7 separate regions of the Homo sapiens genome follow, and regions 1, 2, 4, 5, 6 and 7 are each linked to region 3. Evidence: promoter capture Hi-C in 16 types of primary human blood cells and fetal thymus (Javierre and others, 2016). All regions are on one chromosome and are shown on one strand. The core of a region is centred on a gene start or on the middle of the fragment in contact, and the rest is flanking DNA. Distances in the headings are between cores, read along the strand shown. Region 1 overlaps FGF12 (fibroblast growth factor 12). Region 2 overlaps FGF12 (fibroblast growth factor 12). Region 3 holds the start of OPA1 (OPA1 mitochondrial dynamin like GTPase). Region 4 overlaps FGF12 (fibroblast growth factor 12). Region 5 overlaps FGF12 (fibroblast growth factor 12). Region 6 overlaps FGF12 (fibroblast growth factor 12). Region 7 overlaps LSG1 (large 60S subunit nuclear export GTPase 1).

Evidence for each region. The method cuts DNA at HindIII sites, captures the fragments that hold promoters and counts their contacts. A CHiCAGO score of 5 or more calls a contact.
Region 1: a contact is called between a fragment that was not itself captured here and the fragment with the promoter of OPA1 in region 3, in 2 of 17 cell types (naive B cells and total B cells). The highest score is 9.6, in naive B cells.
Region 2: a contact is called between a fragment that was not itself captured here and the fragment with the promoter of OPA1 in region 3, in 1 of 17 cell types (endothelial precursors). The highest score is 5.1, in endothelial precursors.
Region 4: a contact is called between a fragment that was not itself captured here and the fragment with the promoter of OPA1 in region 3, in 1 of 17 cell types (naive B cells). The highest score is 6.5, in naive B cells.
Region 5: a contact is called between a fragment that was not itself captured here and the fragment with the promoter of OPA1 in region 3, in 2 of 17 cell types (total B cells and naive B cells). The highest score is 8.7, in total B cells.
Region 6: a fragment that was not itself captured here is called in contact with the fragment with the promoter of OPA1 in region 3 in 1 of 17 cell types (total B cells); the score reaches 5.7 in total B cells.
Region 7: a contact is called between a fragment that was not itself captured here and the fragment with the promoter of OPA1 in region 3, in 1 of 17 cell types (activated CD4 T cells). The highest score is 5.4, in activated CD4 T cells.

The regions. Positions count from the first base shown.
Region 1 is chr3:192,476,079-192,479,850 of GRCh38, forward strand. The region is part of intron 2 of FGF12 (fibroblast growth factor 12); the gene reads right to left. Among named protein-coding and RNA genes, the nearest start is that of FGF12-AS2, 37 kb to the right of the region's middle. The HindIII fragment of the contact is 8,441 bases long and covers 1-3,772 here.
Region 2 is chr3:192,559,029-192,562,843 of GRCh38, forward strand. The region is part of intron 2 of FGF12 (fibroblast growth factor 12); the gene reads right to left. Among named protein-coding and RNA genes, the nearest start is that of FGF12-AS3, 44 kb to the left of the region's middle. The HindIII fragment of the contact is 2,846 bases long and covers 90-2,935 here.
Region 3 is chr3:193,591,826-193,595,168 of GRCh38, forward strand. OPA1 (OPA1 mitochondrial dynamin like GTPase) reads left to right here and starts at 1,383. Exons shown (of 31, transcript NM_130837.3): 1 at 1,383-1,584. The coding sequence starts at 1,553. It also overlaps a transcript of ATP13A4 not described here. RefSeq lists enhancers at 1,045-1,696, 1,092-1,161, 1,212-1,261, 1,697-2,348, 1,862-1,941 and a silencer at 1,482-1,631. The HindIII fragment of the contact is 1,567 bases long and covers 822-2,388 here.
Region 4 is chr3:192,460,245-192,463,875 of GRCh38, forward strand. All of the region lies in intron 2 of FGF12 (fibroblast growth factor 12), which reads right to left. Among named protein-coding and RNA genes, the nearest start is that of FGF12-AS2, 53 kb to the right of the region's middle. The HindIII fragment of the contact is 1,807 bases long and covers 869-2,675 here.
Region 5 is chr3:192,492,736-192,496,623 of GRCh38, forward strand. The region is part of intron 2 of FGF12 (fibroblast growth factor 12); the gene reads right to left. Among named protein-coding and RNA genes, the nearest start is that of FGF12-AS2, 20 kb to the right of the region's middle. The HindIII fragment of the contact is 2,925 bases long and covers 1-2,858 here.
Region 6 is chr3:192,520,119-192,523,564 of GRCh38, forward strand. The region is part of intron 2 of FGF12 (fibroblast growth factor 12); the gene reads right to left. FGF12-AS3 (FGF12 antisense RNA 3) reads left to right here. Exons shown (of 2, transcript NR_185499.1): 2 at 1,171-1,280. Among named protein-coding and RNA genes, the nearest start is that of FGF12-AS3, 5.0 kb to the left of the region's middle. The HindIII fragment of the contact is 2,417 bases long and covers 578-2,994 here.
Region 7 is chr3:194,668,553-194,672,041 of GRCh38, forward strand. LSG1 (large 60S subunit nuclear export GTPase 1) reads right to left here. Exons shown (of 14, transcript NM_018385.3): 2 at 1,457-1,583. Among named protein-coding and RNA genes, the nearest start is that of LSG1, 1.9 kb to the right of the region's middle. The HindIII fragment of the contact is 3,764 bases long and covers 1-3,318 here.

The sequences.
Region 1 (3,772 bases), core at 734-3,233, 1.1 Mb before region 3:
CAAGAGATCACCTGCAGCTCCAGGTGAGATGACACCCGAAAGACTTTCCATACATGGCCTAAACATTGGCTTCAGAGATCACATGTGAGCTCTATATTTTAAAGGGCAGGACAACATAAAAATAATCATAGCTACAATCTTGAAACTTTTTTCTGCATCCATTTACCTAAATGATTCTGCCCAGTGACTACCATTTAGTTCTTACCTATGAGGAAAATATTGTTATTTTTGTTTACAGATGAAAAAAAAATGAAGCCCAGAGGTCTCTAACAAAAAAGTGGCAGAATCTAAATGTGAATCCCAATTGTTTGAGTCTAAAGCCTGACTCCCACCACCACTCTACATTAACCCTGATGAATTACTCATCATTTTACCACAACATATGGGAAGTACTTGATAAATAATTAATGAATGAATTGATCAATGGCATTAAGTCCAACAGCCTCACAGCCATCTGTAATATGCCCCCTGTTTATTTTGTTGGTATTAATCCCCACTGTGACTTTTCATGGAATTACCTCCACAAATACAACATAATGCAAAATTGCAGGAAAGAAGCTCAAACTTTGGGATCTGAGAACAAAGAAGCAAAATGGCTTCCCTGAAGTCAGACACTGAGGATCAGAGAAGTACCTAGCAGTCTAGTTTTGCTAGAAGAAAGGTTGTCTGGAGGACACTAGTGGGAGTAAAGAAAGACTGATTATAGCCAAATTGTAAATGAGTTTGGATGATCTTTACTCTGAAGGCAATAGAGAGCCATTGAATGGCTCCTAAGAGGAGGAGTAACAAGATTGGAGCCATATACAAGCAAGTATCTGATAAATGCTTTCGGATGATTAAGTTGATATCAGACTAGATCCCAAAAGGATATGGCATTCTTAAGTTTGGATAATTTGAGGAATATTTACTTACAAAAGAAGTGATTACAGAAGGAAGAATGAGGTGTAGAGAAACTACAGGGAGCAGGTAGGAACCCAGGGCTAGTAGCAGCAGAGCTGTACTAGCTTAACGGAAAAAGAAGAGAGAGGGGCTACCCAAATCCAGGGGAGAAAGCTGTACAGTGTAAACTACCCAGAAGGCAGCGGTGACATTCTGCCATGGCCAGCCAGAGGTCACTTCACAGGGAAGAAACTAGAGGAATAAAGACTGACTTTGCTTTCTCTCTTCACTCTATCTCCTGCCAGCGCTTCCCACTGGACAAACCCAACAAGCAGCAGAGTACACTCATGCCCCTCAAAGAGTTCACATAGGGGAGACCCCCAGGAAGAAAGCAGAGGTGGGAGAGTGGAGGGGATCTGGAGGCCCAAACCAACGATATCTGGCTCAAAGTCTTCCCAATAACAAGAAAAATTCTATTGCAGTATAGTTTATAGACAATTTTTAGTTACCTGTATTAAGATAAATGAAGAATAAGTAGAAACAATGGTACGATATTATTACCAGTATAAAGATACTTTATTCCCAATGATTGTATAACTATATTTATTTTTAAACACTAGACTCATTTATATTGTAGTTCCAGTTTCTGTAAGTATAGCAGCTATTGAAATGGAGAATGGGAGTGGAGAGAGGGGAAGAGTCAAGTCTGGCCCCAAAATACACACTTTTGATTGGTAATTTGATCTGGCATGAAAAATTAGCTATAAATTATTAGTAGCAGAAAATTGCATATGGTTGATTTAAAAATGACTTCACTCGAAACCACATATTTATAATGATAGTTTAATATGCTGTTTGATCAATTATTCTTTCAGGTTCATGACACAATAGAAAACTGTCATCAACAAGAACGTTGGTGTTTCCTAATCAGGAGCTAAGTGGTTGTACTTTACATCACTTAAAAATACAACTTGTTTCAATTCTGGAGATAATTGCTTTCCCACATGGGCATCCATAGGTTACCTCTTTGTGTGACTGATAAGCACACTGGCTTATGAAAAATGTAAGCCAGAATTTCACTTTGCTAAGAATCGTTAAATTCAAAATATCCTTGGTAGGCATTAGGCCTAAAATCTCATTGCATTTTAGCTCTGTAACCCTGGGCAAGTCTTTTGACCTTTTTAAGCAAATATCTTGCCCTACCTAACCTCTCATAGAACATATATACTGAGCAATTACCGTTTTCCAACCACCAGGTTGGTACTTATCACCACAACCCAAGAAGCAGGTACAACAGTTATCTCCATTTTACTGATAAGAAAAGTGAGTCTTATTAATGTGGGTTAAGTAATTTACTTATAGTCTTACAGCTAATAAATGATAAAGTAGGATTAGAATCCAGCCCCTGGCCCAACTCCAAACTATATACTATATATCCTCCTACTCCATAATTAGTAGATAGTATATACTGTACTATCTTCCTACCCCATAATAGTCATTTAGGGTTTGAATGAAATAACATGTTAAAATATTATGTAAAGGTAAAGAATTATACAAATGTATAATTTTTGTTTTATAATATCTAAGATTCTTGATCATTCCCTAAGTATAACTTTTCAAAGAGTCTACTGTATTCATTCTTCATGTAAATATTTTGATCATCTATTAATCATTTTCAGTTTTCTTGTGACTAAGATAAAATTTTCAAATACTAGACTGTGGAAAAGCATACTTGAAGTAGTTAAAGGTGAACACCGGCTGAAAGAAAAATGAAGTTTAGAAAATTCTTTTAAAAACTATCATAGTATTTAATTGGTCTTCAGAATTGGATTACTGTTTCAGTGTAACTGTTGACTTGCATAAACTCAAAAGAAACAGTTTCTCATATTCCAGTAAGCATGAAACATACTGTTGGTGTTGTCCTGATGTTATGTTATATATTTTAATTCTTACTAAAAGTTTTCTCTGGTTAGAACCTGCTCAGTCCACTTTTCTGCAGAACAGACATCACTAAGGCAAAATAAATCTCCGGTTGTACATATTGATCAAAATATGGAAGCCTAAAAGAGGCATGCTGTTTGAAAAACACTGTGAAACATCATGCAGATGAGTGTTCTTATCCAAAGCCAAATTCTTCCCTTCTTTTAGTTCTTCTTTTTCTGGATACAGGAAATATATTCCCTTTTGAAGAGGCAATATGCCTGGGCCTCCCTCCTTCTCCTCACCAGTGTCTAAAAGGAATTATTCCACTTCCAAGGCCACAGGAGACTATATCAGTGCCATCTATGTTTAGAGTCTAACACCATCATCCTTTCAGAAGGCAGCAGTAGCAGCTATCTCAAAAGACAGAGCAGTAGGATGGGTCCCTGAGCAGATGCCCACCTGTCCAAAGTCCCAGGCTCCATCTGAGTCAGGTGTCATTGAAACATATCACCCAGTGAAAGTCACATGGAGTCTTAATAATGCAGATTTAGTCAACTTCTTTATTTCAGATGTCCAACTAAAAACACCTGGGAGACCTTAAGCATTATCTATTTTCTCTTTCACCAAACAAAATGATAAATGGAAAAAAAAAGTCTGCAGACTCTCCTATCTTCCTTAGCAAACCAAAATAAAGAGAGATTCCTTACTCTTGAATGGTAGGTGTGAGTAAGGTGGGGGAGAAAAATAGCAGCATGAGTCTACTAACCTAGTCTGGTTAAACAAAATCCTGTTTTACACTCTCATGACAATGCTACCCAGTTCATTTGGTCCATTTTAACTGAATGCCTCCACTGTGCCCAGTTTCTGGAGTTTGCACAATTTAAGTTGCATTTCCCATCCCCTAGAATATTAAGAAGTAAGAATATTTTAAAAATTATTACGGTAACATGAGTTAGGCTAAAGAATAAGA
Region 2 (3,815 bases), core at 263-2,762, 1.0 Mb before region 3:
TCGCTTTTCACAAGGATTTCATTAATTTGACGCTGAAAATACAGACAACAAAAGCAAAAATAGACAAATGGGACTACATCAAACTAAAAAGCTTCTGCCCAGCAAAGAAAACAATCTGCAGGTAAAAGCCAACCTAAAGAATGAGAAAAAATATTGGCAAATCATATATCTGAGGAAGAGTTAATTCCAAAATATATAAAGACCCCCTTCAACTCAATAGCAAAACCAACAGATAACCCACTTTTTAAAATGTTTTAAGAATTGGCAAAGGACTTGAGTAGACATTTCTCCAAAGAAGACATATAAATGGTCAATAGGTGTATGAAAACATGCTCAATGTTACTATGGGAATAGTAAAAAGATGAGTGGTTATCAAGAGGTAGGGATAGGGAGGGGTAAACAGGTAGAACACAGAGGATTTTTAGGGTAATGAAACAATTCTGTGCGATGCTATGATGGTGTATATATGTTATTATACATTTTTCAAACCTCATAGAATGTACAACACTAAGCAAGAACCATAATGTAGAACACTGATTAATAATGATGTGTCATATGTATACATATGTAACAAACCTGCACATTGTGCACATGTACTCTAAAACTTAAAGTATAATAATAATAAAACTAAAAAAAGAAGAAAAAAAAGATGTGTCAATAGATTGCAACAAAAGTGCCACTGAGGTGGGAGATGTTGATAGTAATGGAGGTTGTGTCTGTCTGGGGACAGGGACATATAGAGACACTCTCTGTACTTTCCACTCAATTTTACTGGGAACCTAAAACTCCTCTAAAAACTAAAGTTCGTTAATGAATTAAAAAAATCAGTAGGTAAGTAGAAGATTTCAGCACTATCTCAACCATTTTAACCTAATTGATATTTATAGGACACTACTGCAACAATTGCAGAACACACATCCCTTTCAAATGCTAAAAATGTTCAAGATTCATTCATGATATACCATAAAATAAGTAGCAATAAATTTAAAAATATTGAAATTTTACAGTGTATGTTCTCTGACCACAATGGCATTGAATTAAAATTCACTAAGATGAAGAAAATCTTCAATATTTTGAAACGAAACAGCACATTTGTAAATCACCCAAGGTAAAGAAGAAACAACAAGGCACATTAGATAATTTCTGAAAATGTATGTTCACGAAAACAAATCACTCTATATTTGTATGATCCAGTTTAACTAAGTCTTAGAAATATATGAGATTCAAATTCTTATATTTGAAAAAAATTAAAATCAATAATCTAAGGATTACTTTAAGAAGATAGAAAAAGTAGAGAAAATTACACTCAAATAAATAAAAAAATAATAAAGAGCAAAAATCAAAATATAAAACAAACAATATTGGAAAATTTAAAAGCCAAAGTGTTTTTGTAAAAAAAGGTAATAAGATGGTTAAACCCTAACATAGGTACTGTTGATGAAAAAAGAAAAAACAGTAATTACCAATACTAGGAATAAAAGATGGCATGTCATTGTAGATTCTATGGGCAAATATTATACATGCCCTTGTGTTAGTATATTCAAATTAGGTAAAAGGATTAATTTCTTGAAAAGCGTGAATTAAAAATTGAAAGGAAAAATGAAGAAAATAAATATAATTCTGCCTGGTAAATAAATTTAATTTGTAAATTAAAAACCTTCTCACAGAGAAAGCTGGAGGCCTGGTTGGTTTAACTGCTGAACTATATATTAAATATTAAAGAAAGAAGAATGCTAATTTTAACAAACTCTTTCCTAAATTAGAGGAAGAAATAAAACCTGTCACAAATCTAACAAACCTATTACTGAAAAAAAGGCAAATTAATATTCTCATACACATAGATGTGAAAGAGTAATAAAATTCTAGCAAACAAAACCTAGCAGAGTATTAAAAAGAATAAACAAAATATAGTACATGCATACAACAAAATATTTAGCCACAAAAAGGAATAAAGTATTGACTCATGCTACATGGGCAAACCTTGAAAACATTATGCTAAGTGAAAGAAGACTGTCACAAGAGGTCACATATTACATGACTCCATTTATCTGATATGCCCAGAACAGGAAAATCTATAAGGGAAAGGGGAAGCGGGGAGTAACCAACATATATATATGCCATATATACACACACACAAACACACGCACAGCTATATACACAAACACACATTCTGCAAATCAATAATAAAAAGACAACACAAATTTTAAAATAAGCAAAATATTTGAACAGGCACGTCAGAACAGAGGACATACAAATGACCAATAAGTACATGAAAAGTTATCAACATCATTAGTCTTCAGCGAAATGAAAATTAAAATGATGGTGAGAAACTTCACTTTTCTTTTTTTTTTTGAGACAGAGTCTCGCTCTTTCACCCAGGCTGGAGTGCAGTGGTGCAATCTCAGCCCACTGTAACCTCCACCTCCTGGGTTCAAGCGATTCTCCTGCCTCAGCCTTCTGAGTAGCTGGGACTACAGGCACCCGCCACCACGCCCAGCTAATTTTTTATATTTTTAGTAGAGATGGGGTTTCACCGTGTTAGCCAGGATAGTCTCGATCTCCTGACCTTGTGATCCGCCCGCCTCGGCCTCCCAAAGTGCTGGGATTACAGGCGTGAGCCACCGTGCCTGGAAAATACTATTTATTTGTGAGGATACAGACCAACTGCAACTCTCATACATTGGGAGTGTACTATGTTACAAACGATTAGAAAATAATACTTCTAGAAATGTCACTTAAAATAGTATCAGATTGTTTGCAAATTTGTTTCCCAGTTCATTATAAAGTTAAACAAGAGCTTACACTATGACCCCGTACTTCTGCTCCTGGGTTTTTACACAAGAGAAGTTAAAACATGGCAAAATAATAATAATAATAATAAAGAAAAAAAGAAAGAAAAAAAAAAGAAAATGACTTGTACATGAATATTTCCAGAAGCTTTATTCAAGTTAGTAAAAAACTGAAAATAATTCAAATGTCTACCAAAATAAAAACAAATAAATACACCATGGAATACTTAGACAATAGACCTTATACTCAGCAATTTTAAATAATTAACTAGTGATACACAACAACATGATGGATCTCAGAAATTTTGTTTAGGAAGAAGTTTCAAAATAGTATAGACTGAAAAAATTCATTTATATGCAATTCAAGATTAGGCCAAACAAGTCTATGATGAGAAAAATTAGATAATTGGTTGTGGGTGGGTGGGGAAGAGACTGACTGGAAGGGATGTGAAGAAATTTTCCCAAGTGAAATGTTGTATGTCTTGATGAATGTGTTGGTTATACAGGTTAATTTAACAAAACTCAATAAATTACACATTTAAACTTTCTGCATTTTATTGCATTTAAATTTTTAATTAGACAATAGAAACACAAAGAATGCATGTATTTTTACTTCATAAATGCATGAAGTAAATAATAAGAAAAACATGAAGGGATTTCTTCAGTAAAGTTCAAAATTTGATTGAAATAAAAAACCCACAATGAAGTAGAATTGTACTAGATACAGCTCTTATTAATAAATAAAAAAATTATATAGGCCATCTTGTCGCCATGGGACAAATAATTGCTGTGAATTTATATTATCTTCAATAAAACATATTTGTAATCAGTAAATAGGTATACTCTTCATTATGGCAACTAGTATGGAAATTTGGGTACAGAAGATAAATTCTGGGTGATACTAACCCTACCTCTGAGACTTTTTTTTTTTTTTTGAGCCAGAGTCTCACTCTTTTGCCCAGGCTGGAGTGCAGTGGCGCAATGTTTCACTGTGCTATGAGAGAAGCTATGTTTCATCCACTAAGC
Region 3 (3,343 bases), core at 133-2,632:
CTCTTATTTTATTTTCTAAAATAACAAGGAAGTAACGATTACAAAGACACTTTTTGTACAACCCTACAATCCCAGGAAGATCTACAGTTTGCACAGGTTGGTACAGCAAATTGCTCTCTGGACCTGCCATTGAAACAGTCACCACAATAAATAAAGAAAATTCTAAGAGTCCTGCATTTGGGAAGTTTACTATCAATGGCTAGGTCTACTCTTGGTGGTATTGTGAGTGCATGGGTCCAGACTTATGATTCTGACAATTAAGGGAAAAGGAATTGTCTTTATGCTCTGTGTATTTGTGTATGTGTGTGGCATGGGTGGGGGGCGGGTAGTGGGGAGGAGGTGAAAGGTCCCTGAAGTAAAGAGGATGCACAGGACCCTTTTATTTTAGTCCCTAAAAATTGGCTTCATAACCGTTCACAGGCCACATCCCTTTTACGGGCCCTGGTTTCCTTACAAAACATAAAAGGTTTGTGTTGGAAGGGGAAAGGAGTATTTAAAGTGATGGAGGAGAGGAGCTCAAGATGGCTGAGATCTGGGCCTGTCCAACATTGAGAAATTTGGGAGGGGAGCCATCAAAGAAGCCTGGGAGCAGCAGTTCCAGGGAAAAAGGAGAATGTGATGGCCAGAGAGCCAAAAGAAAAAGTAGTTGAAGGAGTGCTCAGCACTAGGCATCTGAACTGAATGCTGTGGCAGGCTCACTGGCCACAAACAATAGGGAGCTGGTGGAGGCCTTGACGAGGACCATTTCAACAAACTGGTGGGCTTAAAATCCGGAAGAAACAGTTGAACAAATCATTTTGACGCCTTTTATAAACCACACAAGCTTATTCCAAACCCGTTACTGGCCTAACTGATTTAAGTCCCTTTCCCATCTGATCCTCAGAGATTCTAAGGGACTTAGCCTATCCATGACTCTTCGTCCTGCTTCTCACCTCCCATGATTGCCCTAACGATGTGAAAGTGCTTTCAAACAAAGATGCCCAAGAAAGAAGGTAGGCAAATGTGCAAGCATTAGTTTGTAGTACGCTATTACTGTATTTCACCTTGCACTCTCTAGTTTCCTTCGTGCTCCCTCAATATCCAACTCTTAATAAATTCATGGCTCCCGGTGAGCATTCATCAATTCTCATTCCACGCCTTTAGCCCTTCCCGTTCCCGCCCAACTCTCGCTCCCTCCCCTGGCCAAATCTCTAACCTGCAAGGCTAATTCCGAATTCCAAATCGGAAGCAAGAGGGCGGGGCCCCGTGAGAGGCGATGGATTGCTCCAGTCCGTTCCCGACGCACTGTGCGCATGCGCTGGTCCTCCGCGGACCGTTCGTGCTGCCCGCCTAGAAAGGGTGAAGTGGTTGTTTCCGTGACGGACTGAGTACGGGTGCCTGTCAGGCTCTTGCGGAAGTCCATGCGCCATTGGGAGGGCCTCGGCCGCGGCTCTGTGCCCTTGCTGCTGAGGGCCACTTCCTGGGTCATTCCTGGACCGGGAGCCGGGCTGGGGCTCACACGGGGGCTCCCGCGTGGCCGTCTCGGCGCCTGCGTGACCTCCCCGCCGGCGGGATGTGGCGACTACGTCGGGCCGCTGTGGCCTGGTAAGTGCAGGCTCTAATCTGGCCCCGTTAATTCTGGGGCCTCTTGAGAGTGGGGCTGTCTTATCTCTATCTCCAAAAATGTGCAGGTGACTCTCAGGCCAGGCCGACGGCAGTTGGAGAATTCCCAGATGTTCTTGAGGACCCAGAATGACAGGAGCCCTGGCTGGGCTTACGTTCGGAGCCGGCTTCAATACTGGCCCTTTTCTCTGGCCCTACCCAACCCGAAAATTCTGGACGCCTCTCAATCTTGGCCCGTCTCTATTGTCCTTTTGTCTCTGCCCTTTACACCCTTGTGTCTTCAGTGTTCTGTCTGTCTCTGGTTGCCTCTTTTGCCTTTTTTCTGTCCTCTCCCTGCCAGGTTTGGCTCTGTCCATGAGTCACCTCTCTCCACATTTCTCCTAACTCTCGGTGTCTTCTTTTTCTTCCATTTCCACGCCATGTGTACATTGCATCTTCAGGTACCTGGGCTCTTCTATCGGGGAAAGGGGCGTCCGTCTCTTTCCCTAGCCCGCTGATAGAAGTCAGAACTAGAGCAATGACGCACACGGTGTCAGAGACGGTGATTCGAGATGCCCTTTCAATAGCAGCTTTTTTCTGTGTTTCGGGAGGGAGACTTACTTTTTGATGCAAGGTCGTGAACGTGGCACCACCTTTCTAATCTCAATCATTGTTGCCCTGGGGTGGTTTAATTCTAAATAGAAAATCATAGAAATCTTTTCATTTCTGTGCGTTACTATATGCATTGTAATGAGATTAAATTGGATTTTATAGGAAATTTTGTTCTAGTATCATTAGATACCTTCAAGCTTAGCTCATTGTTGCAGGCATTTGATAGGAAGTAAGATGCATCAAGCAAAATTGGAAAAACGTGGTTTTCCTGAATTAACTTCTAAGCAGTTGTTTTGAATTTTTTCCAGACCTTTTTAAGTGGTATAGATAATTTATCGTGTTTATAAGGAATGGAATGCATTCGTTAGTTTGTTTTTGTTTTGTTTTGAGACGGAGTCTTGCTCTGTCGTCCAGGCTGGAGTGCAGTAGCGCTATCTCGGCTCACTGCAACCTCCGCCTCCCAGGTTCAAGCAATTCTCCTGTCTCCGCCTCCGGAGTAGCTGGAATTACAGGCACGCGCCAGCACGCCTAGCTAATTTTTGTATTTTTAGTAGAGAGGGGGTTTCACCATTTTGGCCAGGCTGGTCTCGAACTCCTGACCTCATGTGATCCACCCTCCTCGACTTCCCAAAGTGCTGGGATTACAACCGTGAGCCACCGCGCCCGGCCCAATTTGTTTTATATAGGTTAACTGGAGTCCAAAATACAGAACTAGATGAGATAACAATAGTTAACAGTGTTAGTCAGTTAGAATTATTGCATAGGTATTTTTAATCTCATGGAATTTTAGTCTTTGAGTAAGTTCACAGCCCTTGGTATTAAAGTAAGTTATTTACAACCCTTGCATTTCTACTTCTCAATATTTAGTGAGGAAACATATCTGATTTTCTTTAAATAAAAAGAGAAAAGACTGCAGAAGATAGCATTCTCTGTTGGAGCAATTAAGATGTATAAGAAGAACTACAAAGACGGAGTTTTAAAACAAACTGATTTATAAGTGGTATTTATTTAATTGGCTGTCATTGGGCTAAATTATTTCTAAAGTTACCATGGATGCCATTGAGTCATGGCTTAAAAATGTCTCCTGGTGATGGCACAGTTTAGCTACCTAAAGAAGTAGAGATGTGGGAAGCCAGAAGCCCCAAGCTCT
Region 4 (3,631 bases), core at 522-3,021, 1.1 Mb before region 3:
ACTTCTTCCTTTTCCAAAAGACTCAGCTGAACTAACCACTTGGATCACACAAATTTTATTCCTACTCATGCTTAAGTTCGGGTAGGAAGAGGGAGTTTTTTCTAAATTCAGAAACCTGCCTGAGTTCTCTGTCTGAGCTTTGCCCACAGCCTCAGAGCGGAGCTAGAGGAATGGCAGCGAAGTTCAGGATGTCCACTGAAAAACAGTGGAATATAAGGCTCATGTATCAGGTCTCTGAGAATCAACTCTGAAACAAATGTCACATAAGTGCCTTTAAACCCGCAAGCAGAGTACACGTGCTCTGCAACCAGCAAGCACAGGCTACAGACGCTTTCCGAATCTCCCCTCTGTAGCTCCACACTCACCCCTTTACAAAACAAAAACAAACAACAACAGCAACAACAAATATATACATATACACACACACACACATATATTTATATATATATATATATATATATCCACTTTGCATTTACTTGCATTTAGATAGTGCCTTACAGTTGGAAACTTTTTTCTTATATATTATTTAATTTGCTACTTTCAAGAGCACTCTAAGCTGGTTAGGGCAAGAATCATGGGGCTTAGAGAGTTAAAATGAATTTCTCACAATCACTTTAACTGAACTGGAGCAAAAAGTTAAGCATTTTTAATTCCTATGTATTTCCTGCCATACGGTACTGCTAAGTGTTTGCACCTTTCTTTTTTATCCAGAGTACATATATTCATTAAGCATGTGGTATGGCTCACAGTTTGTGCTAAGTGATATGGGGGCCAGTTTTAAAATCTATAATCCATGATCTGTTTCAAGTAATGTTTACTCAATGTGATAACCTATATAACATACAGGACACATTTTTTCACAGGCTGAAGCTTATTCAGAAAATGCAATCATTTAACAATGGGATTTTTGTAAATGAACATTGTAAAACATTTATTTTTGAATAACAAATATACCTTGAATTACACTGGGAGGAACATGCTTAAAGACATGCCAAAAAAATGATCCACATGCACACCTCCAGCTCAAAACATTCAGGCTTGAGATCATCAAAAAGAAAGTTAAACAGAATCTTCATGGAACACATTTGCCTAATTTATAATGACAATTGAAAATATTGGCACTGTGATATCAAAAATGGTGAGCACTATAGAACATACCCAAATTAGGTTAAATACCCTAAAGTAAGAGAAGAGTACAAAATTCCTGTGAAGGATTAATAGTGACTGGAATTCCATCATATTTATAAGGTAAATTATAAACTAGTATCTATCAAATCCTAATCAGTATTTTTATCTGATGTGGTTTTTATTTCTTAATTTAAAGAAATTTTATGTTCTCATTCCTACAAGCTATATAACTGAGATTATAACTGAATTCACTTTTCAGTTATCTGACCCTAAACAGAAGTATGTGTGTAAGCAGAAGTGTGGGGAAGATGTTTTTTAAAAATCATTATTACTTGGCCAGGCACGGTGGCTCATACCTGTAATCCCAGCACTTTGTGAGGCCAAGGCAGGGGGATCATCTGAGGTCAGGAGTTTGAGACCAGTCTGGCCAACATGTTGAAACCCCGTCTCTACTAAAAATACAAAAAATTAGCCAGGCATGGTGGTGCGTGCCTGTAATTCCAGCTACTCGGGAGGCTGAGGCAGGAGAATCGCTTGAACCCGGGAGGTGGAGGTTGCAGTGAGCTGAGATCGCACCACGGCACTCCAGCCTGGGCAACAAGAGCGAAACTCTGTCACAAGAAAAAAAAAAACACACATTATTACTTAATGATTATTGGATGATAAGAAAATGAATCAAATAAAATATATGGCTTGTTTCATTTTGAAATTTAAAACATGTTTTTAAAACTCACTAGTAATAAAGAAATGTATATTAAAATAATAAAATTAACAAACACTGAAACTATTAAGAATTTCTAATGTCAATAAAACAGTGGGAGTATAAATTCTTCTGGACGGAGATTATTATGGTTTGAGTATACCCTCCAAAACTCATGTTGAAACTTAATCTTCAATGTGGCAGTATTGAGAGGTGAGGTCTTTAAATGGTGAGTGGGTCTTGAGGGCTCTGACTCATGAATGGATTAATCCATTCATGCATTTAATGGGTTATCATGGGAAGGAACTGGTGGCTCTACATGAAGAGGAAGAGAGATCTGAGTTAGTATGGCAGGATGCTCAGCCCCCTGGCCATGTGATACCCTTTGCCACCTCAAGACTCTGTAGAGAGTCCCTACCAGCAAGAAGGTCCTCAGCAAATATGCCCCCTCAATTTTGGACTTCTCAATCTCCATAAGTGTAAGAAATAAATTTATTTTCTTTATAAATTACCTGGTTTTAGGTATTCTGTTATAAACAACAGAAAATAGACTGACACAGAGTTATTGGCAAGTTAAGAACTCTCAGATAGTTAAGAAGGCATTACCAAGGTTCTTTAATATGACAGTTCACTGAGAGGACATTAGGTACAAATGCCCCTAACTTTTGATTTAAAAGCCTACAGTAGACTTAATACATTTTAAAAAGGACTTTATGTATAAAGTTTCATATGATAATGATATATATTAATTATACAAATAACTGATTTATAATGTAAGAAATTTAAATATGCAGCCATATAAGAGAAGCACTCTGTAGAAGCTACACAACTGTAATGGCTTACGAAAAGCTTTCAGGGATATTAAAAATATGATGTACGAAGAGTTTGTGGGGATATGAAACCATGCTCATGCTATTGTGTCAAGTGAAAAGAGCAAGCTGGAAAACTGTAGTTATAATAAATCCCCAGGTATAGAGGAGGGAAAATAATATCAAAGGCATTAGAAAGGAACAGACCAAGCTGTTCAAAGTTGTTACTTTAGGGTGATAGAAGATTTTGTTGTTGGCAGGGTGCGGTGGCTCATGCCTATAATCCCAGCACTTTGTGGGGCTGAGGCAGGTGGATCACTTGAGGCCAGAAGTTCGAGACCAGCCTGGACAACGTGGCAAAACCCCATTTCTACTAAAAATACAAAAAATTAGCCAGGTGTGGTGGCACATACCTGTAGTCCCAGCTGCTTGGGAGGCTGAGGCAGGAGAATCTCTTGAACCTGGGAGGCAGAGGTTGCAGTGAGCTGAGGTTGCACCAATGCACTCCAGCCTGGGTGACAGAGTGAGACTCTGTCTCAAAAAAAAAGTTGTTGTTGTCGTTGTTCAAAGGAATTATCAAAATATTATATAATAAAAGACATACCTTGTTTCCATCAACTGGTTATGGTTTTATCTTTTGGGGATGAACTCTTCAAGCTTACCTGGCCATTCCCAAAAGTTAACATCACATATCCTATGAGCTGCCAGTTGCACTTAACAGTCGTGCGTTTTGATTCCCAAAAACCACCCGACACCTTCCCAGCCCAGCACAGTGGCTGGCACCTAGATGGGTGCTTTCGGAACTCTGCTTCCAGAAGCTCTAGGCATGACAGGGAATCATGTGAAAGGATGATGGAAGAGTAAGAGCTTGTGGGTAGGATTTAGTCCCTTAACTCACTTAAATCAGAGTAGCTGGTATTCATCTGTTTTGTTCTTTTTTTAGGTTAGTTTCTGTTTTTGTTTTTTTAAATTAAGAACAAAGCTACCTGCAAAA
Region 5 (3,888 bases), core at 146-2,645, 1.1 Mb before region 3:
AAGAGGTGCAAGAATTTCTAGTTTTGGGCTACTGTGTTAGTTGATATTTGCTCCTCACATGTCACTAGGTGTGAGAAAAGCCTCCTTAATGGTGCTTTCCTCTGGGTCAGTTCCAAAATTTTTCCAATTTATACACAGGATGGTAGAGATAAGAAGTGATGATGCCTCCCAAGTAGCTGGGACCACAGGCATGTGCTATCATGCCTGGTTAATTTTTGTAATTTTTTTTTTTTTTTTTTTTTTTAGAGACAGGGTTTCACCATGTTGGCCAGGCTCATCTTGAACTCCTGGGCTCAAGTAATCCACCCTTATTTTTAGGAAAACTTAGAAATAGTCATCTCAATGTGTAATCATGGGAATTACAAATTTAGGAGACAAATGGAAATATAAAGAGTCAGAGTATGCCTTGGCCAATGACAGCAGGAGTCCAGGGTCTCAGTCTAGGTGCTGAGACTGTGTGCCTTTAGCAGATTTCTTCCTTGAACCTCAGCTTGCTCATCTGTGAAAGGACTAAATTATCTCTAAAGATTCTCTCTGCAACATCAATCTGTGAGTCTACATATAAAACATTAACTCTGCATTAGGAGCACAGTTAGCTGTTAAGTATGTCAAATGGACTTCTTCTTAACTAAGTGGCCCATAAATTAAATTCTTGCTTCTTCCACCCAATTTATGCACTTATCCAAGTCTATGTGCTAAGGGTTTTATTATTTTATAGCAAATTTTACCACTCAAAGGAAGACATAAGAAGGCCTCAAAGAATGTATTCGTCAGGACTTGCACTTCTATAAAGAAATACCTGAGCCTGGGTAATTTATAAAGAAAAGTGGTTTAATTGGCTCACAGTTCTACAGACTGTACAGGAAGCACGATGCTGGCATTTGCTCGGTTTCTGGGGAGGCCTCAGGAAACTTACAATCACGGCAGAAGGTAAAGGGGGAGCAAGTAATTCACACGGCCAGACCAGGAGGAAGAGAGAGAAAAGGGGGAGGTGCCACACACTTTTAAATAACCAGATCTCAGGAGAAGTCACTGTTGCAAGAACAGCACCAAGGGGGATGGTGTTCAATCAGGAAAAACCACCCCCGTGATCCAATCACCTCCCACCAGGCCCCACCTCCAGCACTGGGAATTACATTTTAACCTGAGATTTGGATGGGGACACAGATCCAAACCCTATCACAGGATGATTTTTTTCTGTTATTTAGAAGAGAACTAGCTATATACCAAGGACACAGTTCTGACTCCTTGGATCAGAAGAGAATGACAGAACAGCACGTACCTAGAGATTTATCTAAACACTTCAGAAATCAAATGGCAAGTTTCATGTTTCTAGATACTTTCTGAAATACTTTCTACTATTTAGCATAACCAAGTATGTCTTGCATCTCTGTCTTCCTCTGTAGCTTCCCCTCCAGTCTCCATTAGAGCTCAGAAAATTCACTAGCTCTTCCTCTCGTAACATCTTAGATTTGACACAGAATATGGGAGCTAGAAGACACTTCATAGGTCATTTATTTCTGCTTCATATCAGATGTTTAACTCCCTCTGCAATATCCCTACAGTCATCTAGCATCTGTTTGTACAATAACAGTCACTGCAAAGTTGATAAGCAGCCAAAACATCCATTGTGTTCTCTACAATAGTACTTCCTGTTGGCACAGAGCTGCTTTTCAAACTAAATCTGTCAAACCTACTTCTACTTCCTCAAAATCATCAGACCATCATATCCTACTTCAATCTCTCTTCTTTAGGTTAAATATTTTTAGTCTTTACCTGTTCCTTCTGAGTCATGATTCCAAATCCTACTAATATCCTGGTCATTATCCCCTAGATGCATTCTAGTGTGATAATATTCCTTGAAAATCATGATTCCCAAGACCAGATATAATCTCCTCCTTCCCACCTGCAAATGCTTTGTGATCTGCATGGAATACAATGGTACAACCTACTGTATCATGCATTCTATTCCTTCTCTCATTTGTGATTTATTTAATATGTGGGACACAGATTGAAACACAGTTGTAGTACAGAGAAACACTAGTAAAACTCAAGGGCTTATCTACATACTTGAAAGTGCTGTGGGAAGAATTGGAGGGCCTATGCATATATATATATATATATAAAATACATTTTTCTTTTTGAGATGGAGTCTTCCTCTGTCACCCAGGCTAGAGTGCAGTGGCACGATCTCAGCTCACTGCAAACTCTGCCTCCCAAGTTCAAGCAATTCTCCTGCCTCGGCCTCCTGAGTAACTGAGATTACAGGTGCCCGCCACCTCGCCCGGCCAATTTTTGTATTTTTAGTAGAGACAAGATTTCCCCATCTTGGCCAGGCTGGTCTTGAACTCCTGACCTCGTGATCCACCCACCTCAGCCTCCCAAAGTGCTGGGATTACAGGCGTGAGCCACTGCACCTGGCCACTAACACATTTTCTACAGTCTCATTAGCCATAATCCAGAAATCATCCTAATCTCTGAAGAAACCTAATAACAAAGCTATACTGAACAAAGCTATACAACAACATACACATTTATATCTATGTATGCTTATATATATGTATGTGAATATATAAAGTGTCCGTACATAAACATTTTAATCAGTCTTACTTTGCATCACAAGTAGTAGAATATGAATGTTTTTTCCCAAGATACTTACATCATGCAGTATATAATTGTTTTTATGAAAGCTGTTTTCCACAATTCACAACAATGATATATATAAACCTATATTATATATGTGTGTGTAAGTCTTTATCAATCATAAAGTGTTTTAGACCTACTTGATCTTTACAGAACTCCAGGATGCTGTAAACTCAAGGAAAGAATTAGCACACTCATTTTCAAATAACACACAAAGCTTGTCAAAATTCACATAGTTTTTAAATTACAGAGACAAAATTGTAACCTAGGCCTTTGTATTCCAAATCCAATAGCCCTCACCTTTTTGAAACAGGGTCTTGCTCTGTTGCCCAGGCTTAAGTGCAGTGGCGTAATTATGGCTCACTGAAGCCTTGACCTCTCAAGCTCAAGTGATCCTCTCAACTCAGCCTCGAGTAGTTGGGACCATAAGCATGTGCCACCACCCCCAACTAATTTATATATATATTTATATACAGGGTTTCCCATGTTGGCCAGGCTCATCTCGAACTCCTGGGCTCCAGCAATCCACCCATCCCGGCCTCCCAAATTGCTGGGATTACAGGCATGAGATACTGTGCCCAGCCTAATCTTCACTTTTAAAAACAGGAAACCATTTGTTAAAATCCATGATTAAAGTTTTTCTAATCATAAATAGAGCTAGACTCTTATGTAAATACTCCCCAAAGAAACCACATGGACTCCAAAAACCATTAGCAGCCTCTAGTCACAAATGCTATGATCATTCTTAATAGGAGAAATTCAAAACCAAGAAAAGCCGAAGCAAGATGAAACATTTATAAAACGTCTAACTTTCCACCCCAAGCTAATGGATTCTTGCCACCACTGCAATATCTTACATTGCTTAAAACAAATGTTCCCAGATCTAATTGTACAATATAATCTCGGGGGGAGCTTTTCTAAAATATAAATACAGAACCTTTCTGATAGAGGAGGTCTGGTGCAGGACAAGGCAATCTGTTTGACAAGAGTCTGATGTGACTCTGATATACTGGTCCAAGCCTGACATTTGCCAGCCATAGGAAGACGCTTTTACACTTGCAATATCCGCCGTCTTTTTCCTGCAACATCAGCTTTCCTTCTTCTAGTCAATCTATCTCATCAGCATATAAATATGCTAATAATATTTTTCATAAAAACAATGTTCTCATCATCTCACATTCCCTTACTTCTCCACACAACTTCACTGCAAAACTCTTAGAGAAAGATTTTTCCATACTCACTGTC
Region 6 (3,446 bases), core at 536-3,035, 1.1 Mb before region 3:
CTCTCAGCAGAGAGAGCTAGGAAATCTATATACACATACACGTACATCATATTTATTTCTACATTTCTATCGGTATATCTTTTTAGATAGATTCTGATATATCATGTAGAGCTAGAGATAGAGATAGATATCGTTAATACTTCAATCCTAAGTCAATACCACCAGGTTCATTTTATTTTTTGCCTTTTCCTTATTTGTAACTTCTTTCTGACAGTGAAAGGCCTGACTTCCGTTATTTATAATATATTCACTTATTTATTAAATCCTACTATACACTTAAGGTAGTTAGAGAATTGCTAACTGATACTCCTGTGAGAAACACTTATTACAAGAGTACAGTATTTATGTACACTTATTTTTGTCTTGAACTTTACAGTATCCAATCAAAATACTATTTTCTTTTGAAAGTGACTTAGGTTGCTTCTTTACTTGCCCATCCTCTTCAGTGTGGTTTGGTTATTCATTTGTAAACTTATATTCCATACACATTGATTTTAATTATTTAACTAGATTTAGTTTACTTAAATTATTTTTTTTATTTGGGTGCGTGAAACGTTACTATGGTACTTAGAGTCAAAGCTTTACCAAAAAGTATAGCTTGATAATCGTTATTCCCTCATTATCCCTCCTGGCCAGTTCCTGTTCCCTCTTTTTTTCCACTTATTTCCCATGCACTGCCTATAGGTAACTGGTTTCTTTAGTTTATCTTGCCTGTGTTTCTTTTGTACAAATGCACACACACTCTTCTATGTAGTGGTCTTTTGATTGTTTCCAGTATTGTACTATTATAAACAATGCTGCAATAAGTAACCTTGTGTGTAGCATTTTCATATTGTAGAAAACACTGCTAACCAATACTCCTGTGAGAAATACACTCTGTGTGCCTCCAGGGTAGCCTCCTAGAAAAAGAAATGCTGGGTCGAAAAGTATGTGTATAGATATTTATGCTAAGTATTGCTGAATTTTACTCCAGAAGGCTTGTATGAATTTAGATTCCTGCCAGCAATATATGATTGCCTATTTGCCCACAGCCTTACCAACATAATGTATTGTCCTACTTTTTCATTTATGTCAGTGTGATTGTAATGTTTTAATTTGCATATCTCTAATTATGATTGAGTTTGAACATTTTGTCATTTGTTTGAGAACTTTTTTCTTATCTTCAAATAGATACCTCCAGGATTTGGGGCTGCAGTTGGACGTTTTCCATCTCTTCTAATAGCACTGTAACAAGTTGTCTTGAATAAACACGAGCTCGTTAGCCATAAGAAAACTTTAAAGATGAGTTATCTAATTCAAATGGAAGGAAAATGTTTTTAAATCATCATAGTAAAATATGAGCTGTTTATTTTGCAAAATATGAGGTCAATCAGTTCAGGATAATAAATACTTATGAATGTCAAGGAAAAAAAGCAATTGCTCATTAGTCAAAACTCATTACCAAAGGAGGGGCACAATACAAAATGGGTGTTTCCACCCTTTTCTCCTATCACCTGAACACGTCTCTGACCCTATAAATTATACACATTTCTTGAGACCTACCATAGAAGCCACAGCGATCTCTCTGGTAAACTTTCCCTCCTATCTCCCCGCCTCCCCCAAAGCAGTCACAGCTTCCTCGTAGTTCCCACAGCACACTGCAATTCCTCTATTATAGGATTTATTTTATTCAGCTTGCACATGTATATTTTCCCCCCAAGAGACTATGAGCCTTTTCGCCTCCAAATTTTGGTGTTCATGTTCATATCTTTTATGTTTGTATATCTTGGTACCTAGAATATGTAAGAAATAATTTATTTAAATATTGATGAAATGAAAACAATGGGGACTTTTACTTTGGGAGGCCGAGGCGGGCGGATCACGAGGTCAGGAGATTGAGACCATCCTGGCTAACACAGTGAAACCCCATCTCTACTAAAAATAGTAAATATTAGCCGAGCGCGGTGGCGGGCGCCTGTAGTCCCAGCTACTCGGGAGGCTGAGGCAGGAGAATGGCGTGAACCCGGGAGGCGGAGCTTGCAATGAGCCGAGATCGCGCCACTGCACTCCAGCCTGGGCGACAGAGCGAGACTCCGTCTCAAAAAAAAAAAAAACAAAAAAAAACGGGGGGGACTTTTTTGTGATTTTCCAATTGGGAAAAATATTTGTAATTCTGTATTACATTTAAAAACAATAGCTCAGAAAGAATTTAGAGTGAGGATATGAATTAGATAGAAGATATAACTTACTTTTAAACATTTGAAAAGTCATCAGATTCACACATGAAATAATATATATAATCCAAAATCAAATATTAATACCGTATAAGATTTCAAGGATAAAAATGTTTGATAACTTGGTGTACTAGAGAGAATATAAAGGAAATGGGAACCCTCATACATTCTTGGTAAAAGTAAGCATTAATGCCTTTATGGATAGCTATTTGTCTCTAACCTTCAAACTTTAAAAAGCCAATTCCCCCTTTGGCAAATTCTTATTTAGTTATTTTAGATATAGTTGCATAAGCATACAACAGTGACAACTGCACAAAGTAGTCGGTACAACATTGTTGATAACACTATTTGATAGTAGTGATACTAATCTATCAATAAGGAACTAACTTACATTTTGGTATATTCCCACAAAGTAATGTGCTACAATTTTTTTAATATGAATAGATCTGTGAAATTTATTACTGAATTTAACAACCATATAAAAGAATAAATATAGTTTGCCACAATTTGTGTAATCTAGAAAATAAGAATGTGCATACGTTCACGTTTATAAACTCATGGACTCTTTCTGAAAAGGTACACAAGAAATTGGCATCAGTTGTCGTCTGAGGGAGAAAGATTAGGTAGCAGAACACAACAGAGAGGGAGACCTACTTTTGACTGCATTCCATTTTATACTTTAAAAATGTACCATATGCATATTCTTCAAAATAAATAACATATTACAACAAAAATCAGTTATATAAATTTGGCTTTGATTTTTAAAACATATTTATTACTAAGCTTAATTAAAATACAAAAATCCAGAATGTGAAGGAGACACACAGGGACTAGAAATGTTATTTCTAAGTTGCAACAGGATATAGTCTTGATGCCTTGAGAATCAGAAGACCTAAGTGAACATCATAACTTCTCAGAGCCTAACAGTAGAATGTTGGTACCAAAAGGAGTTCAAGTATTGATGATCATTATCCTCTAGGATGAAGGGATGCATGAGGAAATGATAAGAAATTTCCAAAGTGCCATAAATCTGAGGTGCTACTCTTATTTTACTTTTAAACTATATATTCATTTTTAAATGGGAAGTCTTACATTTAGGTGACATTGGGAAAAATAGTTACTTCCATGTGATTGTTATAAACCATGTTTGATTCCCACATGCCCTTCTGGAATTTCAACAATCTTGAGTATTAAAGACACCAAAACAGTAATAAAGAGCCCTACCCAAGTCTG
Region 7 (3,489 bases), core at 187-2,686, 1.1 Mb after region 3:
CAAGTCTGGTTTACTCTAGCTCCTTAAGTGTTCTTGTTCCTCTTATTTTCTCCCTTCTTCTACTACCTGTATTTCAGTTCTGGCCTATTTTGCTAGACTAAAGTGATACAGTCTCCTAACTCATCTTGCTTCCTTAAAATTCATCAGTGATCTTTTAAAAAATGAAATCTCATGTACCCATGAGACATACCTGCACTCCCATGTTCCCTGCAGCGCTATTCACAAGAGCCAAGATATGGAACCAACCTCAATGCCCATCAACGTATGAATGGATAAAGAAAACGTGGTATATGTAGTATACAATGGAATACTATTCAGCATTACAAAAGAGGGAAATGTTGACACTTGTGACAATATGAATGAACCACTCTGCTATGAGAAATAACCCAGGCACAGAAAGACAAATACCACATGATCTCACTTATACGTGGAATAAAGCCGAGCTCATAGAAGCAGAGAGAAAATGGTGGTTACCAGAGATTAGGGAGTGGGGCAAATAGGAGGATACTGGTCAAACGGTAAAGTTTTACTGAGGCAGGATGAATAAGTTCTGGAGGTCTAATGTACAGCCTGGTGTCCATAGTTAATAATAACACATTTATTAGTTAATAATATGAAATTTGCTAAGACAGTATATATCTTGTTCTCACCGCACACACAAAAAAACAATGTGAGGTGATGGATACGTTAATTACTTGATTTTAGTAATCATTTCACAATATATACATATAACCAAACGTCACACTATATACTATAACTATATACAATTTTTAGTTGCCAATTGTGTAGCTCATTAAAGCTGGAACCCACACATCCCCCCAAAAAACACTAAACAATGAAATCTGAAATCATGTTGTACACGTGCTTAAAGCCCTGTAAAGCCTTAAACCTTTGTTCTCTCCAGAATCTGGCCCTTGCCCACCTCCTCAGCACCTGTGCTCATCACATCCCGCCCCCTGCACCAGCAAAGCCAAACTTCTAGCCATTTTCTGAACAAAGTTGGCTGCTGCTTCACATCTGGGCTCGAGTCCTCTGCCTGTCTGTGTAAAAGGTCTTATCTCATCTGTCCTTTGAACATCTACTCATTGTTCAAGACTCAGGGCGGGCACGGTGGCTCACACCTGTAATCCCAGCACTTTGGGAGGCCAAGGAAGGCGAATCACGAGGTCAGGAGATCAAGAACATCCTGGCCAACATGGTGAAACCCCATCTCTACTAGAAATACAAAAATTAGCCAGGCGTGGCAGTGCGTGCCTGTAGTCCTAGCTACTTGGGAGGCTGAGGCAGGTGAATTGCTTGAACCCAGGAGGCGGAGCTGCAGTGAGCTGATATCACGCCACTGCACTTCAGCCTGGGTGACAGAGCGAGACTCCATCTCAAAACAAAAAACAAAAAAAACCTCAGCCCCAGATGGAAATGTGACAGTCTCACCTGCACTCAGCAATAAACAACTTACCAGCTACAAACTCTGTTCCTGCAAGTTCTGCAGTAGCAAGGAAGTCATCAAGGGAGCTCTGTTCAGTCACTGACTGAAGATTAAGACGACCCCAATCATAGCCATCATTGAGTTCACTTGTGTGCAACTATGAAAAAACACAGGGTGATAAATACAGCTGCTCTCTTCTGCTCTTGGCATCCAATAAGCTCTAAAATTCCTTGCAACTAGTCTATGGTCTTGAGGGTGGTTGTAGTCCCTTTAGAATCAATACTACTTATAGTTAATGTTTAAAGGAACACGTTCTTACCTCACAATAGGCAGTTCCCTTTCACCATTTCATTAATTTTCAAAATCTTTTGAGGTGAATTTTACTGTATTTCCATTTTACTGATGATGAAACTAAGGCTTCAGCAGATAAAATAACTTGCCTATAGTCAAAATCTAAATGGCACAGGTAGAACTTGAACCCAGATTGTCTGACTGTGCTAGTCAAAATTAGTCAAAACTTTATTTGATATAATCCCACAATAAGAAATACATTTTACATAGTGACCCAAAGGTGTATGTACATATAATGATACAAGCATTCAAGTACCGTTCAGTACAGTAAAATGGCAATAGAAGAATACTGAAACCACACCCTATTACATGCAACATTCTGATATTTCTCTATCTTGCTGGGGAAAAAATAAAAACAAAACAAAACAGCTAGCTGCAGACCACTAAATTGACTTCCAGACACAACCCAGAGTTTGATAACCATCACCCTAAGCTATATACTTAGTATAGATACAAATAAAAAAAAATTGCCAGGCGTGGTGGTTTGTGCCTGTAACCCCAGCTCCTCAAGAGGCTAAGGCAGGAGGATTGCTTGAGGCCAGGAGTTTGTGATCAGCTTGGGCAACACAGCAAGACCCTGTCTCTCCAAAACAAACAAACAAAACCAAACAACCAGGCCTGATGGTGTGCACCTGTAATGCCAGCTACTCAAGAGACTGAGGCAGGGGGATTATTTGTGCCCAGAAGTTTGAGACTGTAGTGAATTGGTGAGTTATGATCACACCACTGGCACTCTAGCCTGGGTGACAGAGTGTGACCCTGTCTCTAAAAATGAATAACTGAATGATGAATGAATTTCCTAAATAAATATTAAGGGCCAAAAGTTTAAGTGGGCATAGAATCAGCAAAAATAAGGAATTAGGATCCAATTCTTTACCATTCATGTTCAATCTTCCCACAGTTTCCTAAAAGGCTTCATTAGTAACAAGTTGCTTCAAAGCTAATAAAAATTACCAGTAATCTAATGTCCAGAGTAACTCTGACCTGATGAATACTGATAAGCACTCCATGCTGTTTACTCTGCAGACTATATGGATGAAAGTCAGCTGGTGTGACAGTGGCACACGCTTACTTAGCTCCAGGGACATATTTAACTAAATTTAGCACACGATCTTAGCACTCAACATGTTCTCATTCATTCCCGGGGGAATGAATGGTGAAAATAACGACTAGAATGATGAACACAAGCCAAATCACTTCATTCATTTTTTTAAAGATCCTTCTATAACCTAGTAAAATATTAGGTCTTGTCACACCTGAAAAATCAATGATTTATCTTTGAGCTAAACCACTAGGGGGTGCTTCGCAAGGATGAGGCAAGGATCTGAATTATTTTATATTTCTGGCAGTAACCAACCGCTTCTGGAGGATCCATTCTTTGAACAAATCAATACAAAAATACGTTTTGTCTTTTTCCTGCTCTGGAAGTTCCAAGCACTTCAGTGGCTTCTAGGGCAAAACCCAAACGTACTCAAGACCTGGCATTGAAGACTCTTCAGATTCTCACTCCACGCCTCATCACCACACTAACTCTTCTTTCAAGCTTCTCCTACCTTTGTGTTCTGGGCCTTGCCAGGAGGAGGGCCTGCTACTCAGCTTGGCAGAAACTCCAACTCATCCTTCAAAACCCGGCTGAGGCGTCCCTCCTGCAAAACTTATCTGACTTTTGACCCCGAATTTTGCAGCACTCAGGCTAGACAGAAAAGATAAGA